Regions from separate parts of the Homo sapiens genome. Here region 1 is linked to region 2. Evidence: promoter capture Hi-C in human tissues and cell types (Jung and others, 2019). All regions are on one chromosome and are shown on one strand. The core of a region is centred on a gene start or on the middle of the fragment in contact, and the rest is flanking DNA. Distances in the headings are between cores, read along the strand shown.

The links. The method cuts DNA at HindIII sites, captures the fragments that hold promoters and counts their contacts. A contact is called where the count stands out against the background at its distance.
Region 1: a contact is called between a fragment that was not itself captured here and the fragment with the promoter of GXYLT2 in region 2, in 3 of the 25 tissues and cell types used here (bladder, dorsolateral prefrontal cortex and neural progenitor cells).

What each region holds. Positions count from the first base shown.
Region 1 is chr3:73,010,699-73,015,678 of GRCh38, reverse strand. All of the region lies in intron 2 of PPP4R2 (protein phosphatase 4 regulatory subunit 2), which reads right to left. Among named protein-coding and RNA genes, the nearest start is that of PPP4R2, 16 kb to the right of the region's middle. The HindIII fragment of the contact is 7,065 bases long and covers 1-4,980 here.
Region 2 is chr3:72,885,893-72,890,454 of GRCh38, reverse strand. It overlaps GXYLT2 (glucoside xylosyltransferase 2), which reads right to left and starts at 2,409. Exons shown (of 7, transcript NM_001080393.2): 1 at 1,947-2,409. The coding sequence starts at 2,221. RefSeq lists silencers at 1,910-2,039, 2,140-2,369. The HindIII fragment of the contact is 12,200 bases long and covers 1-4,562 here.

The sequences.
Region 1 (4,980 bases), core at 891-3,390, 130 kb before region 2:
GCGACACAGCGAAACTCCGTCTCAAAAAAAAAAAAAAAAGCTGGGCATGGTGGCACACGCCTGTAGTGCCAGCTAATCGAGAGGCTGAGGTAGAAGAATCGCTCGAACCAGGGAGGCAGAGGTTGCAGTGAGCCGAGATCATGCCACTGCACTCCAGCCTGGGCGACAGAGCGAGACCCTAAAAAAAAAAAAAAAAAGACAGTAGGCTGGGCACGGTGGCTCATGCCTGTAATCCCAACTTTGGGAGGCCAACGCGGGTGGATTACTTGAGGCCAGGAGTTCAAGACCAGCATGGCCAACATGGCAAAACCCTGTCTCTACTAAAAATGTAAAAATCAGCTGGGCATGATACACACCTGTAATCCCAGCTACTCAGGAGGCTGAGGCAGGAGAACTGCTTGAACCAGGGAGGCAGAGGTGGCAGTGAGCTGAGATCAAGTCACTGCACTCCACCCTGGGCAACAGAGAGAGACTCTGTCTCAAAAAAAGATAGCAGAGAGCAATCTTAGATCTTGTGGGTAGTGTTTTCATTCCTTCTGTTTTATAGGACTTTATGACATTTCTGAGATCTCAGAGTGCTCTCAGTATTTATTTTCTTCCTATATCCTAAATGGCTTGCTTTGGCATGTTTATTAATAAACAGGCCAGGAGTATATTTCGAGGAAAAAAAATTACGACTGGGTGAGGCTGCTTACATCTGCAATCCCCGCAGTTTGGGAAGTTGAGGCAGGTGGATCACTTGAGGCCAGGGTTTCGAGGCCAGCCTGGGCAACACAGCAAGACCCCATCTCATTAAAATGAATAAATAAATACACAAGGATTCCAACTAATAAATGATAAAGCAATGCTAGATTTAGAATATTATCACTTTCAAATCTCCAATGAAACAAATGATACAGGCAATTTTTTTAGTCTAGCCAAAAAATCTGAAAAAGGAACAACTCTATCAATGAGGCATCAGATAGAAAATTACAAGTGGCAATAAAAAAAAACTATAAGATGTTAGCACAAAATAAAACAATGCAAATTAAATAAAGCATTTTTCACCTACCAGATTTTCAGATTTAAAAGCCTAATAATGGGCTCTGCACAATGGCTCATGCCTGTAATCCCAGCACTTTGGGAGGCCAAGGTGGGAGAATTGCTTGAGTTCAGCAATTCTCAGTTGAGACCAGCCTGGGCAACCAGCCTGAGCAAGACCCCATCTCTACAAAAAAATTAATAAATTAGCTGGGTGTGGTGGTGCATACCTGTAGTCCTAGCTACTGGGGAAGCTCAGGTGGGAAAATCACTTGAGCCTAGGAGTTTGAGGTTGCAGTAAGCTATGATCATGCCACTGCACTCCAGCCTGGGCCAGAGTGAGACCCGGTCTCAAAAATAAATATAAAAATAAAAATAATTTTAAAATCTGAATAATGCTTGGTGCTAACATGGATATAGAGATAACTTTCATATACTGCTAGTAGAAGCACATACTGAACAAGTTTTTTGGAAAGCCAGCTGGCAGTATCTGTCAAACATAGTAACGTACATAATCATGAACCCATAAATCCCACTCTTACATCTGTGCCAGTATATTAACTTAAGCACTGTTTGAATTGGTTGGTAACTGTAAACTGCCCAAAAAACCATCAAAGAAGACAGGTTAAATAAAGAACACCCAAAACAATAAAATATTATGCAGCCCATGAAGACAACGAGGTAAATTTTTGTGTTTTGGTAAGATATCCAAATACAAGCCCGGGCGCGGTGGTTCATGCCTGAAATCCCAGCATTTTGGGAGGCCAAGGCAGGCGGATCAACTGGGATCAAGAGTTTGAGACCAGCCTGGCCAACATGGCAAAACCCTGTCTCTACTAAAAATACAAAAAAATTAGCTGGGCACGGTGGCACGTGCCCGTAATCCCACCTACTCGGGAGGCTGAGGCAGAAAAATTGCTTGAAACCAGGAGGTGGAGGCTGCAGTGAGCTGAGGTTGTGCCACTGCACTCCTGCCTAGGCAACAGAGCAAGACTGTCTCAAAAAAAAAAAAGAAAAAGAAAAAAGGTATCTAAATAAAGAAAATAACAAAAGGCAAACTGAAGTTTCATGGCATTTAACAAGAGGATTAACACACATACACTTATGTGTACAGAACATTCTGTTAAGAATATACAAGAAATAGGTAACAGTATAGTTTGATTTTTTTTCTTACATTTTTGTAAAATGAGACAGAAACATCTAAAGCAGTATCAATTTCAATCATCTTTGCACATGAGTTTTCCACATTTATAGGCACAAGAATTACCTAATTTGTGTGATCCATTACACTCAAAATGCAGTTATTCTCACCAAATTCCTCCTTAACCAAAATGAAGATGTAAATAGAAAAAGCATATATCAAGATATTCTCCATATTTTAAATCCAAGTTTTTAAAGCTACTTTTAAAATTTTACCTGTTCATCTAACCATCTAATATTTTGTCAGAAATAATTTTTAAAGTAACCACATGCTGGCTATGGCACTGATTTTAGCCATATCCTACCAAAAGCAACATAGCAAAACCAAAGACCACACACAATATTTACAAGAAAACTGAATGACAACTTAACAAGGTATCATCCCCAAAAACTCTCTACTATGAACAAGCAGGCAGGGCAAGACTAGAAAAGTATCAGTATCTACACAAGAGGAAAAGAAACACGACTTGTCTTGCAATGACCCTACAAACATGAAAATCTCAAATTCACCACTAGTATTCACTGGTAAGGGTGGTTTAAAAAAAAAAAAAAAAAAGCCTACATTCTACCTACATTTAAGATTGCTCCTTACAGCAAGACACACTCTAGTATGCAAAAGCCCTAGAAAAGGTGGACCAGTCTCCAGTTAACAAATCTCTTTGAAACAAAAACGGCCACCACCTCAAAAGCCACCCTGGAAATCACCATAGACAACAGTATCCCTAATAAAACAATCTCTAAAAATATTAAATTCCCTTTAGTTGCACAATTTTAAATAGAAATACAGTGCGCCCTCTGTATCTACGAGTTCCACATTCGCGAATCCAACCAACCTCAGATTGAAAATATTTGAGAAAGGGCTGGGCGCAGTGGCTCACGCCTGTAGCCCCAGCACTTTGGAGGGCAGAGGTGGGTGGATCATGAGGTCAGGAGATCAAGACCATCCTGGCTAACATGGTGAAACACAGTCTTTACTAAAAATATTTAAAAAATTATCCAGGTGTGGTGGCAGGCGCTCGTAGTCCCAGCTAAGCGGGAGGCTGAGGCAGGAGAATGGCGTGAACCCGGAAGCCAGAGGTTGCAGTGAGCTGAGATTGCGCCGCTGCACTCCAGCCTGGGTGACAGAGCAAGACTCCGTCTCAAAAAAAAAGAAGGAGAAAATATTTGAGAAAAATTGTACTGAAATGTGGAGACATTTCTCGTCATTACTTCCTAAACAATATAAGGTATAAAAACTATTTACGTATCATTTATATTGTATTACGTATTATAAGTAATCTAGAGATGCACCAAGGATGTGCAAAGGTTATATGCAAATATTATACCACTTTACATCAGGGACTGAGCATCCACAGATTTTATGTCCAAAGGAGGTCCTGGAACCAATCACCCACATATAACAAGGGACAACCGTACTTTGCCATTAGTTGATAGAAAGCTACCTCACTCTCCCCCTTCCTCCCAGATATACACAATAGTGCAAAAATTACAAATGTTAAGACCTCGCACTTTCCTTAAATTTCAAATTCTATAGCATATATTTTTCTCCAGTTTCATCACCTACAAATGGGAATATTAGAACTACCTCCCAATATTGGTGTGGTAAGATTTTTACTTAACTGAGAATAACAAATCCAAGATGCATATATTAAATAGAAAGCTTAGAGTCACTTCAAGTTAAAATACACGTATCAGTCTCATCACCTGTATGTTTCAAATTTATGTCTCTACAAAATTACAATTACTTAAAAGTTTTTTTCCTTGAGGTGACTGGAAAATAGTCAAAATTACAAATGTTAAGGGTACATCAGTCATCTATCTTATTGACCCACACTCAACCTTCTCATAATTGCCCCAAAATACCCCACAGTACATGAGGTCAAGCTTAGGTAAGCCACTTGAAAAATCTCAGAAATTACAGAAATAACGATTATAAGAGTCCTAACAAAAGCAAAAAGCTCCAAATTTTTTTTTTTCTGAGACACTGTCTCACCCTTTCGCCCAAGCTGGAGTGTGGTGGTGCAATCTTGGCTCACTGCAACCTCTGCCTCCCGCGTTCCAGCGATTCTCCTGCCTCAGCCTCCCGAGCAGCTGCGACTAAAAGCGCCTGCCACCATGCCCAGCTAATTTTTTCTATTTTCAGTAGAGGCAGGGTTTCACCATGTTAGCCAGGCTAGTCTCGAACTCCTGACCTCAGATGATCCACCCGCCTCGGCCTCCCAAAGTGCTGCGATTACAGGCGTGAGCCACCGCACCTGGCCTGAAAGCTCCGCATTCTAACAGTGGTTTTGAAAAGATTCTGGCACTGTTACAGTAGAGGAGGAGGATGTAAGACAACTGAACAAGGGGCAAATGGTATATATTAATAAAATGCAAATTACAAGAGGATTTGGAGCCAGAATGCCTGAGTATAAAACCCAGTTCCATTACTTAGCTGTACAACCTTGGACAAATTATTTAAGCCTTCTAAGACTCAACAGCCTCATTTTTAAAAAAGAGAAAGACCTACTTCAGATAGTAGTTGTAAAGACTAAATCAGGTTATGCATATGAAATATTTGATAATGTCTGACACAAAATAAATGTTCATTAAATATTTGCCATTTAGGAATAAAAGAAAGGCTGAGCCCAGTGGCTCATGCCTGTAATCCCAGCACTCTGAGAGGCCGAGGCAGGTGGATCATCTGAGGTCAGGAGTTGAAGGCCAGCCTGGCCAACATGGTGTACTAAAAATACAAAAATTAGCGGTGATGGGCGCCTG
Region 2 (4,562 bases), core at 1,160-3,659:
CATCTGAAAAGTGGGGATACCATTGGTGCTTACTTTGCAGAGCAGGTTCTCAAACTTTGTTGTGCATGAGAAACAATGGGAGGGACGTGTTAAAACACGGTTGCTGACCCCCCAAAGCTTCTGATTCTGTAGGGTTGGGGTGGGGCCCAGGAATCTGCATTTCTAACAAGTTCCCAGATGATGCCTGTGCCACTGGTCTGAAGTCCACACTTTGAGAACCACTGTCAAAGGGTTATGGTTGGGCCCGGCGCGGTGGCTCACGCCTGTAATCCTAGCACTTTGGGAAAGGCTGAGGCAGATGGATCACTGGGCTCAGGAGTTCCTGGCCAATATGGTGAAACCCCGTCTCTCTACTAAAAATACAAAAATCAGCTGGGCATGGTGGCACACGCCTGTTTGCCAGCTACCTGGCAGGCTGAGGCACAAGAATCACTTGAATCTGGGAGGCCTGAACCCGGGAGGCAGCGGTTGCAGTGAGCAGAGATCGCAGCACGGCACTCCAGCCTGGGCGACAGAGGAAGACTTTGTCACAAAAAAAAAAAAAAAACAAAAAAAAAACCAAAAGAAAAACAGCGGTGGGGGGGAAGGTTATGGTGTGGATTATGTAGTTGTATATGTTAAGTGTTAACTGTGACTATTTGTATGTACTGCGGTTAGCACTGTCCCTGGCAATAGGTTAGCGATGTTAAGGATGACAGTTATTATTATCTTACCAGTTGTCCCATCAAACTTAGCAATCATATTAAACTTGCAGTTAAACCCTAATTAATCTCTTACAAGAAACTCCAGTATAGAAGAGGGGAAATCCTATTAATTTCCTAACAAAGATATCCTTAAAGACTGTATACATCCAGAAAGGGCTGTAAAGTGTTATAAGTACTTTAAAGCGACAGATTGTTGGGGTTTTTTCCCCCTAAAACTTGTCAGTACCCATTTGTACTGAGACAGAAGGGAAACAAAGGCTGACACAGCTACTTCTTGAGGTTTCGTGTCTTTTAGTTACAGTAAAGGCACCAAAGAGATTTAGTCATTATGGTCAAAAATAATTTTTCAACTCCTTTCAGGTTGAAATTAAGGAGCCCAGCAAACAAGGACGTTGCAATGGCAGTTAGAAACAACAGTTTTGAAAGGGCAGATGAAACAGACTCGCTACAAGACAAGGGGATTGTTGAAAAGCCCTCCACAACAAAGGAAATGAACTCAAATCCCTAACCTGCGGGGCGTTCCAGCAACCCTGAGGCCAAAAATAAAGCTCTCTGATGAAAAGCCTCCGCGTGTTAGGCTTTGTGTAGGGAAAGAGAGTATCAAACAGAAGGTCGAAGGTTAAGTTGTTTTTCTTGTAGGAGGACCCTTTGACCACACTCGAGCCTGAAACAGAATGAGGATCTGGAAACCCCCACTCTGTCTTTTCTGTGCCACGCATCAGTCCTTTCAAGGAGAAAACTTCTTTTTAATAAACTTAGGTCAAGTGTCCCTTCTGTTCTAAGCATGGGGGTACTCGAGGTTAAATGAGAGGCTGCCAGTCCTTGGTAAACATCTAACTTTTCCAACTCAACCATATCTAAGGTTTCGGTAAAATTCTCCAGTGAAACATGAGAATTAGATAAAACATTCTTGCACCGTGATGGCTTTTGACAAATTAAACAAAGGGTGCATGTTTGCAAGAGTGCAAAAATACGCCTTGCCTTGACAGTTAAAAAATGTAATGTACGAAACCACTTTCCTTGACACTTCAAAAAATGTACGTGATTATCAACACCGAGCTGTTAGGGGGACTCCACCAAGGTGGGTCTTCTTTTCTATCGGGTTAAGAAACAGAAGTGGGCAGCCCGTGGGTGAAACTTGGAAATCTGTCTCTCCAGCGCAAAGCCTCCCTTGGACTTGGCACGGGTGTAGGGAGCGAGACACGGGTCCGCAGATGGGATTCTGGGGTTGCCACGACTCACCTCGCCAACTTCTCCAGTCTCGCAGCGCCCCGGCGGCCCGCTCGGGGGCGCGGACGCGGGGGCCGGCGCCTCCGAACTCCCGGGCTGGCCCCGGGGAGGGCGCCCGGCCCCGGCCAGCGCGCGGGGACAGGCGCGGGGTGGCGCTGCGGGGCGGACGCGGGGCGCGCGGGCAGCGCTGGGGGCTCAGCGCGGCCAGCGCGCAGGGACAGCAGCGCCAGCAGCAGCGCGGCCAGCGCGAGCAAGAGCAGCGCCGCCGCCTTGCTGCGGAGCTTCATGGTGCGGCGCGGCGGCGGCGGCGGCCCCCAGGCGGCTCGGCCCCTCTGCGCATCGCGGCGGCGGCAGGATGAGTGCAGCAGCGCGCGGCGGTCGCCTCCTCCGCCCGCCCGCCGGGGACTGGGGTCGTGGCGGCCGGCGGGCGGCCGGCGGCGGCGGCGACGGCGAAGGAGGAGGAGAGAGAGGAGAGGAGGGGGAGGCGGTGAGAGCTGGGTTACAGGAGGAGCAGCCTGCGCCTACCGTACTGTGTGGAGTAGCCGCCCCTCCGCCCGCCCGCAGCCAGGCTCTCGGGCTTCTGGTAGCTCAGACTCAAAACCACTTCATTCATTCATTCGTTCGTTCGTTCGTTTACTTCCCCATTCACTCACACACCCATGCCATCCACTGTTCCCGCTGATTCTCTCATACCATGATTCACTTATTTGTTGATGTATTCCATGTGCTTCCTCCTTATTTATTTTATCCATCTATCCACACATTTGTGCACTTATCCACACATCCTTTCAGGCAGGAACATCTCTGTCCTGTTTGCCCAGTGCAGGGATCTGCGGGTGGTGGTGCCCAATAAATATCTGTTGAATAAACCCCTATTGCCGCCTCTGTCTTGCCACCTCCCTTTTTCCTGGAGGAGGACATATTCAACAAGGACACATGCAAAATAAGGCAAAGCGAGTAAAAGTAACACGTGATTAGTAGTTGGGGTTTCAGACTCAAAACACCAAAGTAGAACTTGGGACAGCTAGACTGGACCGAACCGATCCATGTAGTCTGAAGAAATTAGAGAATGAATTTCAAAGTTTGGATTTGAAATCTGACACTGTGCTTAACTGGCTTGGTGATCCTGAGGAAGCTGCACAACTTTCTTAAGCCTTAACTTCCTTACGTGCAAAATGGGAATGACAATACTGCTCACTACAGAGGCGTTTTGTGAGCATTAAATTAAATAATGCCTTCAAAGAAACTAGCACAGTGCCTGGCTCACAGTCGGTGCCCAATAAAAGTTCTGTAATGATTAGTTCAATAAAACATAGCTTATAATATACACATAAACACACATTTTATTTTCTTTCTGGCACAGATTTGAGATAGAGTAATAATTTCACAACACAATGTAAGAATGGCTTCTTTGGAGACTTTAACAGCTGCAATCGCCAGATGAAGGTCGTAATTTCCAGACGATTCTTCCAGGGGATCCCCAGTTACAAATCTGAAACATTAGGACACATCCTCTTATGACTCACGGTGAACTGACAGCCAGGACTCCATTAACTCTCTTTTCAGCACACCACAGAACAAAGAACACTAGTTAAGTTATAACAACGTCCCTGAGTTTTTCAGTTTTTTTTTTTTTTTTTTTTTTGGATCACTCTGTAGCCCAGGCAGGAGTGCAATGGTGCAATCTTAACTCACCGCAGCCTCCGCCTCCCGGGTTCAAGCCATTCTCCTGCCTCAGCCTCCCAAGTAGCTGGGATTACAGGCTGCGCCACCACACCCGGCTGATTTTTGTATATTTAGTAGAGACGGGGTTTCACCACGTTGGCCAGGCTGGTCTTGAACACCTGACCTCAAGTGATCCGCCCGTCTCGTTCTTCCAAAGTGCTGGGATTACAGGCATGAGCCACCGCGCCCAGCCCGTCCCTGAGTTTCTACAAGATTCCATGTTGCTTTATAAATAATCTAAAATTTAGTTATATTCTGAATTATTCTCATATTAGCATTTTATTTTAATTCCTTGAGAACCCATTGTATTAAAAGTTCTAGAGATGAGAATATTTAGTAATTTGGAAGCTCTTGCCAAGCAGACATCTAGGAAATGGCAGGGTGCAAGTTCAGTGTGGGGGACATGTTGTAGGTGAGTAAGCGCAAAGAATCCATTAGTTCTCAAAGATGAGGGAGAAGGTTCCATCCTACCAGGAAGCATCTGGAATTGTGGGAAGGCTGACAGGTTCTACTAGCATATGCAAAACCTCCTGCAATGCTCAGGACATACCAACAACGAAAACTATCCTGGCCCAATGTGGGACCCTGTTGAGAAACACTAGGCCAGGCTAAGGCATGATGTTTAGATCTTTCAGGTTTAGAAATGGCCACCACTCTGTTGACATGTGGCCCAGAGAAGCAGGCATTCCCAACTCTGTCTTGCCCCCTCCCTTCTACCTCTAGGAGGACAGATGCAACAAGGATAAACAAAGGCAGAGTGAGTCAAAGTAACACTTGATTAGTAGCCAGGGTTTTAGCCTCAAACACCAAAGAATCATGGACCAAAGAGAGGACTCAGTTTTCTTGAACCTCACTGAAGCCAAAAAAAAAAGCCTAATCTGCCTCCTTCCACTGAGTCCAAAC